Regions from separate parts of the Homo sapiens genome. Here all the other regions are linked to region 2. The links are contacts of gene promoters, found by promoter capture Hi-C in blood cells and fetal thymus (Javierre and others, 2016). All regions are on one chromosome and are shown on one strand. The core of a region is centred on a gene start or on the middle of the fragment in contact, and the rest is flanking DNA. Distances in the headings are between cores, read along the strand shown. Region 1 overlaps ANXA1 (annexin A1). Region 2 holds the start of TMC1 (transmembrane channel like 1). Region 3 has its middle 28 kb from the start of CEMIP2.

Region 1 (2,700 bases), core at 87-2,586, 640 kb after region 2:
ATTATTGTGCAGATATCATTTCAGCAGATAGTGAAGTGTTTACTTTTGTGTTTCTTGACAGGCCTTGTATGAAGCAGGAGAAAGGAGAAAGGGGACAGACGTAAACGTGTTCAATACCATCCTTACCACCAGAAGCTATCCACAACTTCGCAGAGGTAACAATAAATTTCTTTTTCTGGAATCTGTTTATGGAAGATGCAATTTTCTTTTTTGATGACAAATAAGAGAAAGTAAAAACAGAACCCTTTTTCAATATCACTCCTGTATCAAACAGATACAGTGTTCCTGACCCATTGTTATTTGTCAATTTGTCCAATTTTGTACAGCCGCTACTTTATCATATTTAATACATTTTGTGACTTGGGCATGTGGAACATAATTTTGTTATTTTCACTGCTTTTACTCCCCTAAAAGATTTGGAATATGTGTGGGAAAAGACATGCATAACAGAACAAATGAAATTAGAATGAAGAAAAACAAAAAAAAAAAAACAAAAAACCCTCAGAGCTAAATGAAGAAAGAAATATGTAGGTGCTTTGGAAAAACAACAACAAGACAAAACTCAGAAAAAGTCCTGGCCTTTGAGTGCAAGATTTAGCTCTGGGCCTCTTGGAAGTGAAGGCGATGGAAAAGTTATGACAATTACCAAAGTTCACCATCTTATAATAGTATACTGATTTCTACTGTTAAATGTAAGAGAAATTTAGTGCACAGGTCTTTATATAAGGGAAGATCCATTTGCTGTGGCTCTTAGAACTGCTGTAGGAAGTGCTATAGTTGTCAATCACATGCCGTTTCTAATAACTGTCAACATTTGCAAACATTTCGCCAAAATATATAGGAATACCAAAATGGCCAGGTAAGTTACATTCCTAGGAGAGGATGAAGTATTCACGTTATGATTAATTGGGTATATTGCTTTAAAAGGTGTAGCCAAAGTTGTTATTCTAAAAAATTCTTTGAGTCAGTTGCCTTGATTTTGCTAAAGCTTTCTAAAGAAAAGGATGTTTTGCATGTATCTTAGTTTGAATTTAATATTCAGTGTTTCAGAAATACACCAAGTACAGTAAGCATGACATGAACAAAGTTCTGGACCTGGAGTTGAAAGGTGACATTGAGAAATGCCTCACAGCTATCGGTATGTAGTCCAGCAGTTGAAAGAGTTTTCTAACTAGAAATTGTATTTTCAAAGCTATCCTATACTTAACAAGAACAACAGCAACAAAACCAATAAAAGAAAACAAAAAACAATCAGAAGTAGTGCATCTGTTTCAATTGAAGCAACGTAAAAGATTGGCAAAGTACTATAACCTTAATAACAATAGATATTATTCCCCTTTTCAAAAATAGAGAGAGATAGACTATACTTATTGAGCACCTACTTATATCAAACAATGTACCAGGCTGGGCACACCACAGAGGCAATTCAGAATGGTCACTGAGAGCATGGGATCTGGAATAAATGTAACATCTGGATAAATGTAACTTCAAGTCCTGGTCTACTGCTTGTTAATTGTACAATCTTGGGCAGGTCCAGGAGAGTCTGATTCAGTGGGTCCGAGTTGGCCTCTAAAAATCGGTACTTTTTAAAGATCTCCCAGGTTATTCAGACAACCATCAGGGTTGGGGAACCTATGTTCTCAAGCAGTGTTTCTCATTCATGACTATGCACTTGAATCCCCTGGAAAGCTTGTTAAAATGCAGATTCTGATTCCCCAGGTCTGGGGTGGAGCTTAGATTCTGCTTTTCTAACAAGCTCCCCATTGATGCCAATGCTGTTGGTCCATAGATCTCGACAAGATGAAGAACACTATGAACTGGAATGTGCTAGTATTATTTGGGTTCTGTTTTATATTTAAGCCCATCCTATCCCAGAGTTTTTTCTTCATTTATTCATTTATTTTTACTTATTTGTTTGTGCAACTCTTACTTTAGACACAGAGGTACATGTGCACGTTTGTTCCATGGGTGTTCTGCACTCAGGCAGTGAGCATAGTACCCAATAAGTAGTTTTTTGACCAATGCCCCTTCTCTCCCTGCCCTCTCTAGTAGTCTGCAGTGTCTGTTGTTCATAGGGTGTTCTTTTTAAATGTTCTTATAGTAACATAAATAAAGTATTTACATAGGCTTGAACACCTAGTGGCTTCTCCACTCCCAAGGAGAATATATGTTGGATAGCGCAAACTACTGAAGTTGCTCTTGAGATGTATTTAAGGTAATAAAAAAATTGATCGTCAGGGAAAAGAATATTCAAAACCACCATCTAGAGAGTCACAAATACCTTCTCAGAAGTTAACTGCCCTATATTGGGAGATGAGAGGTGAAGAATGATGATGAGGGATAGAACACTGTTGGCAAAATTCTATATTTCCTGTTTCTTTCATATGGATATTTCATTTTTTTCATGGTAAATACATCAACTAAAATTTTCTTCTCTAACAGTGAAGTGCGCCACAAGCAAACCAGCTTTCTTTGCAGAGAAGCTTCATCAAGCCATGAAAGTATGTACCATTCTACTTATATGTCCTGCTTAGAGGAAGAATTATTTGTAGAAAGAACAGAAAACCTCATGTTGTTTGAAAATCTCACATTTAATATCTTCCCATTAATGAGAATCATTGTTCTATTTGATGAAAGAGGTAATACACTACCTTCTCAGAATAAACTTCTGTTAGATTCGGTGCTTTTTTTTACAGATGA
Region 2 (2,700 bases), core at 106-2,605:
TATAAGCTTATAATTGCTGACATTAACAAACAACAGGTATGAAGATGCTGTTCACAAAAAGTGCATGTAGTTCCATGTGTTTTATTTAGTCTGTTTGAAATGAAGTTTAGCATATCTATAGCACACAGCATGAAACATGTCAGTCATTTTGAATTTAACATTGTGCATAATGTATTCATAAGAATTATATTTATTTATTAGCATTTATCTTCAAATCAAAGGTTAAAAGTTTCAAGATGCACAAAAATGGTTAACTTTCTGTGAGAAGTCTGAGAAATCACTGAAGACATGAAAATGACAGGCTGGAGGAAGAAGTAAAGAACCTAGAAGGCCAAAATGGAATTCTAAGATAACATGAATATAGAACATAGAAAAGAGAAAGGATTGATTGAAAAAAGGAAAGGGGAAAAAAAAGGAATTATTAAATGGAAACATTAGATTCAAGTAAACCCAAAACAATCATCAAAGTAGATGTTAACAGCATTTTGAGTACATGTTGTGAGTATGAGAAGTGCAATTCTAAATGTTAGGCCCTTATGTTTTAACATATCAGCAAATACAATATTTTGTTTCTAATTTAACAAATTTTTAAGACTTATGTTAGTTGTGACATATTTCCAATAAATAATTATGTTTCCCAAGGACACTGGGTACAATAAAGTGGGTCTGACAATTAACTTACCTTTGAAACCTGAGCCCTTCATTAGTTACAGGAATAGACTGGAACATGATTTTTCCTCTCCTGCTTGGAGAACCCACAAGTTGTGTTTTCTTTATGAATATTGGAAATTCTTTCTTTTAGCCAAATGAAGGGTGTGCATTTCTTCGGCCAGGAGTTACCAGGCTGATAATCCTGATGCAGCGGTTCTCAAAGTCTCCTCAGAAGGCCCGCAGTAGCACCAGCAGCACCAAAGGACTTGTTGGAAACACCAGTTTTCTAGGCCGGGCACAGTGGCTCATGCCTGTAATCCCAGCACTTTCGGAGGCCGAACTCCTGAGGTCAGGAGTTTTGAGACCAGCCTGGCCAACATGGCAAAACCCCGCCTCTACTAAAAATACAAAAATTAGCCGGGTGTAGTGGCGGGCACCTGAAATCACAGTTACTTGGGAGGCTGAGGCAGGAGAATCACTTGAACCTGGGAGGCAGAAGTTGCAGTGAGACAAGATCACACCATTGCACTCCAGCCTGGGCGACAAGAGCAAAACCTCTGATTAGAAAAAAAAAAACAAACAGGCGCCGTGGCTCACGCCTATAACCCCAGCACTTCAGGAGGTTGAGGTGGGCGGATCACCTGAGGTCAGGAGTTCAAGATCAGCCTGGCCAATAGAGTGAAACCCCGCCTCTACAAAAACATGATGGCGCGCGACTGTTTCCCATCTACTCAGAGGCTGAGGCGGGAGAATCGCTTGAACCCGGAAGGCGGAGGTTGCAGTGAGCTGAAATCACGCCATTGCGCTCCAGCCTGGGTGACAGAGCAAGACTCCGTCACAAAAAAAAAAAGAAAAAAGAAACACCAGTTTTCTGATTTCACCGAAGACCTACTGCCTCAGAAACTATGAGGGCAGAACCCAGCAATCTGTGCTTTCTTTCACAAGCCCTCCAGGAGTTGCTGAAATTTAGGAATCATTGCCCCAAAAAGTGGCCCTCATAATGATGCCAGGTAAGGAAAGACAACATTATTACCTATGTGTGGTGTGTTAACATTCTTTATGAAACATGTGTGAAGACCTAAATCGAAGACTTTCTCCATGAGATATTCCCTAATCACATTAGTGAAATAAAACTATATTTCCTCTACTTTTCTACTGCTACAGAAATCTCCCCCAGTTAGGATAGTCCCAGTTTCCTATTTATCTTTGTTTTTCTTGCAGTGCACAGCATGTCACCCAGTAATTGATAAGTTTTTTTTTTTTTGAGACGGAGTCTTGCTCTGTCTCCCAGGCTGGAGTGCAGTGGCGCGATCTCGGCTCCCCAAGTAGCTGGGACTACAGGCGCCCGCCATCACGCCCGGCTAATTTTTTGTATTTTTAGTAGAGACGGGGTTTCGCCGTGTTAGCCAGGATGGTCTCGATTTCCTGACCTCGTGATCCGCCCGCCTCAGCCTCCCAAAGTGCTGGGATTACAGGCGTGAGCCACCGCACCTGGCCTAATTGATATGTTTAAATGTTAAAATTAAATGCAATGATTTCCTAAAATAAACAAATGTGGGACAATTTATTGCACTCTGTTCAAATTCCCATTTTGAAGTGGAATTCAAACAAACATGACAGTAAAGGGGGACAGTGAGCACAGGGACAAGAGAAAAGGAGAAAGGGAAGAAATACAGAGAACTAGATAGGAGGAAGTGTCAAAGACTGATGGGTGTAAGCCACCTTTACCTCTGGATATTGGTTTTCCTTTGAATTGTGGTATGTGGTCATATTGCTTATTAGTTATAACATACAGCTGTCAGAAGAGTTTTTCAATTAAAATTTCAAATGTAATATTAAAACTGTTTGGATTCCTTCCTACTGGGCACTGGACACTGTCTGTGGAGCTGCTGGAACAGCGCTGAATAGGGTCATATTTTAAAGGAACTCAGCCTAGTGCAGTTTCTCAACCTTAGCACTATTGGCCTTTGGGGCCTGATAATCCTTTTTTGTGAGGGGCTGTCCTGTGCACTGTAGGATGTTTAGCAGCATCCTTGGCTTCTACTCAGT
Region 3 (2,700 bases), core at 198-2,697, 720 kb before region 2:
TATTTTTGCTAAACATAATGTGAAGGTGGTTGAAAGCTGGATGCCCCAGGAAGAAGTGCATCAATTTACATGTAAGATCTCGGCTCTGAGGGAAGGAAACACTAGAGAACCCTCCTCTCAAAACCACCTATGATTGCTTTTTCCTGAGGCATGCAAAAATCAGACTTTCTAGTTGATTAGCCAGGCATGAAGTTCTATCTTGACAAGAAGAAAGTACATCCTGTTGTCTTCTTGTCTCGATCTCAAATGTGCTCTTGCCAGATATTAATACATTGCCTTTCTTTAAACACAGGAAGTGGGTAAGGCAAATTTTCTCAAAGGCTCAGAACGGCACAATATTTCTCCCCTTTGCTTACATGCAGAAGATATCTGAGAATATATCTAGCCAATATGTGTAAAGTTTTCATTGACTCAAGCAAGCAGAAGAGTTCAGACAATAATAAGGCATCCTAATTGTTCTAGTGTAAAAAAAAGCTCTGCACTTATTTGCGGTTATTTTTTAAAAATCCACTTTGGAAAATGTGCAGAAAATTTCAGGCTTGGCTAATGCTCTTTTTCCATCTCATGTCCTTTAGCATATGACTCAAGTTTTCCATGTTATCATAAGGTAATTTTGCTATCTTTCATTTATTAGTGTTTATTATTAATTACTTATTATTATAATATAATGCCAATATAATCACACTTAATACTTAGAAAAATCTAGTAAAGGAGGCTGTGTCAGGGATCTACAGGACCACTCCCAGGTTAGTGATTTGCTAGAAATCTAAATATAATGACATTCATGGCTAAAATTTATTACAGTAAATAGATGCAAAGAAAAATTAGCAAAGGGAAAAGGCACATGGGCGAGGTCCAGAAGTAACCAAGCACAAGCTTCCAAGAGCCATCTCCCAGTACGGTCCCCTCCCAGTACAGTCCCCTCCCAGTAGAGTCCCAAAGGACATGCTTGATTCCTCCAGCAATGAGTTGTGACAACACATGTGAAATGTTGTCTACAAGGTGAGATAGGAGGTGGGACTCTGGAGGTGATGCTCAGAAACTGGACCAGATTGAGGACTAGCTAAAACAGGGAAGAGATAAAAATACCTCTCTGTAAGACATGCCCACAAGAGTGCCATGTCAGTTTACCATTGCCATGGCAACACCCAGAGATTTCTGCCCCTTTCCATGGCAATGACCCAATGACTCAGAAGTTACCACTCTTTTTCTAGAAATTTCTGCATAATCCACCCCTTGATTTGCATGTAATTTAAAGTGGGTATAACTATGACTGCAGAACTGCCTCTGAGCTGCCACTCTGGGCACACTGCCTGTGGGGTGGCCTTCTCCACAGAACCAGTACCTCTGCTGCTGCTGTACACTGCTGCTTCAATAAAAGTTGCTGTCTAGGCCAGGCGCAGTGGCTCATGCCTGTAATCCCAGCAATTTGAGAGGTTGACGTGGGCGGATCACTTGAGCCCAGGAGTTTGAGACCAGCCTGGGCAACATGGCAAAATACTGTCCCAACTAAAAATACAAAAATTAGCCAGCCATGGTGGCATGCACCTGTGGTCCCAGCTACTCAGGAGGCTGAGGTAGGAGGATCACTTGAGCCTGGGAGGTTGAGGCTGTAGTGAGCTGTGACCATGCCACTGCACCCAAGCCTTTGAGACTCTGTCTCAAAAAAAAAAAAAAAAAAAGGTGCTTTCTAACATGACCAGCTGGCTCTTGAATTCTTTCCTGGGCAAAGGCAAGGCAAGAACTCTCGCTGGCTAAGCCCCAGCTTTGGGGCTTACCTGCCCTGCATCAAAGGGAAGCCCATTAGGGCCTCAGTGCTGAGAATTTTTACTGGGGATGGTGGTTTATAATCTCAGTATTTTTCATTTCTAAAAGATTTATAAAGGAAAAGTAAGGATGTTCATCTATGTAGTTGTCTCTGTTAGTTTCTTTGTGTGATTGTTGGTTTTGACTTTGACCTGATGTGAAAAAATGTCCCAAGGACAGACACCAAGGAAAGCACGAGATGAGTAATCCATCAAAGCTTCTGTATGAGATGCAAGCCTTCCTCTTTCCATCTCTTCATAGGAGGAAATGGGAAGATTCTTCCCCTGAATCACAGCCCTCCAAGTGTCTACAGGATATACAGCTATTTTCACTTCAGTAGCTTCACATGGGAAAAAATCCCTGACATGGCTATCAGGTCAAAATGAATCAAGAGATAAGATATGTGTATCTGTGAGACTTTTAGACCTAAAACCAGGCTACCCATGACAACTATTTATTGGCTCTCTTAACTGTATTAAAGCACAAATACAAAAAGATAAACATGTTGTCTAAAAATAAATCAATAAATTGGTCTACTCTACCCACTTCAGCATTGCGAAGGAACTACTGTGCAACTCAGTCTACACTGTGCTGTTTCTTCTGGCACGTTTCTTGAATTTGATTTGCACAGCAGAAAAGAATCCTCTCATAGGGCATTATTTATGTATCAGCACAGCAAATACTTTGGTCAGCTACCCAATACTAATAAAACTAACGCCTGTTTATGGTTCATCTTAGTCTCACTTGTTTTCTCTTTTCAAATTGTGTTGTTGCTGTTATTGTTGCCATTGTTGTTGTTGAGACAGGGTCTTGCTTTGTCACCCAGGGTGGAATGCAGTGGTACAATCAACGGCTCACTGCAGCCTCAACCTCCCGGGCTCAAATGATCCTCCC

The links. Contacts are between HindIII fragments. The CHiCAGO score rates a contact against its expected background, and 5 or more counts as called.
Region 1: a contact is called between a fragment that was not itself captured here and the fragment with the promoter of TMC1 in region 2, in 1 of 17 cell types (non-activated CD4 T cells). The highest score is 5.1, in non-activated CD4 T cells.
Region 3: a fragment that was not itself captured here is called in contact with the fragment with the promoter of TMC1 in region 2 in 1 of 17 cell types (activated CD4 T cells); the score reaches 5.6 in activated CD4 T cells.

The regions. Positions count from the first base shown.
Region 1 is chr9:73,165,055-73,167,754 of GRCh38, forward strand. ANXA1 (annexin A1) reads left to right here. Exons shown (of 13, transcript NM_000700.3): 9 at 62-155; 10 at 1,043-1,138; 11 at 2,443-2,501. Among named protein-coding and RNA genes, the nearest start is that of ANXA1, 15 kb to the left of the region's middle. The HindIII fragment of the contact is 701 bases long and covers 987-1,687 here.
Region 2 is chr9:72,520,253-72,522,952 of GRCh38, forward strand. TMC1 (transmembrane channel like 1) reads left to right here and starts at 1,356. Exons shown (of 24, transcript NM_138691.3): 1 at 1,356-1,661. The HindIII fragment of the contact is 6,235 bases long and covers 5-2,700 here.
Region 3 is chr9:71,795,397-71,798,096 of GRCh38, forward strand. No RefSeq gene overlaps it. Among named protein-coding and RNA genes, the nearest start is that of CEMIP2, 28 kb to the left of the region's middle. RefSeq lists an enhancer at 7-96. The HindIII fragment of the contact is 1,147 bases long and covers 875-2,021 here.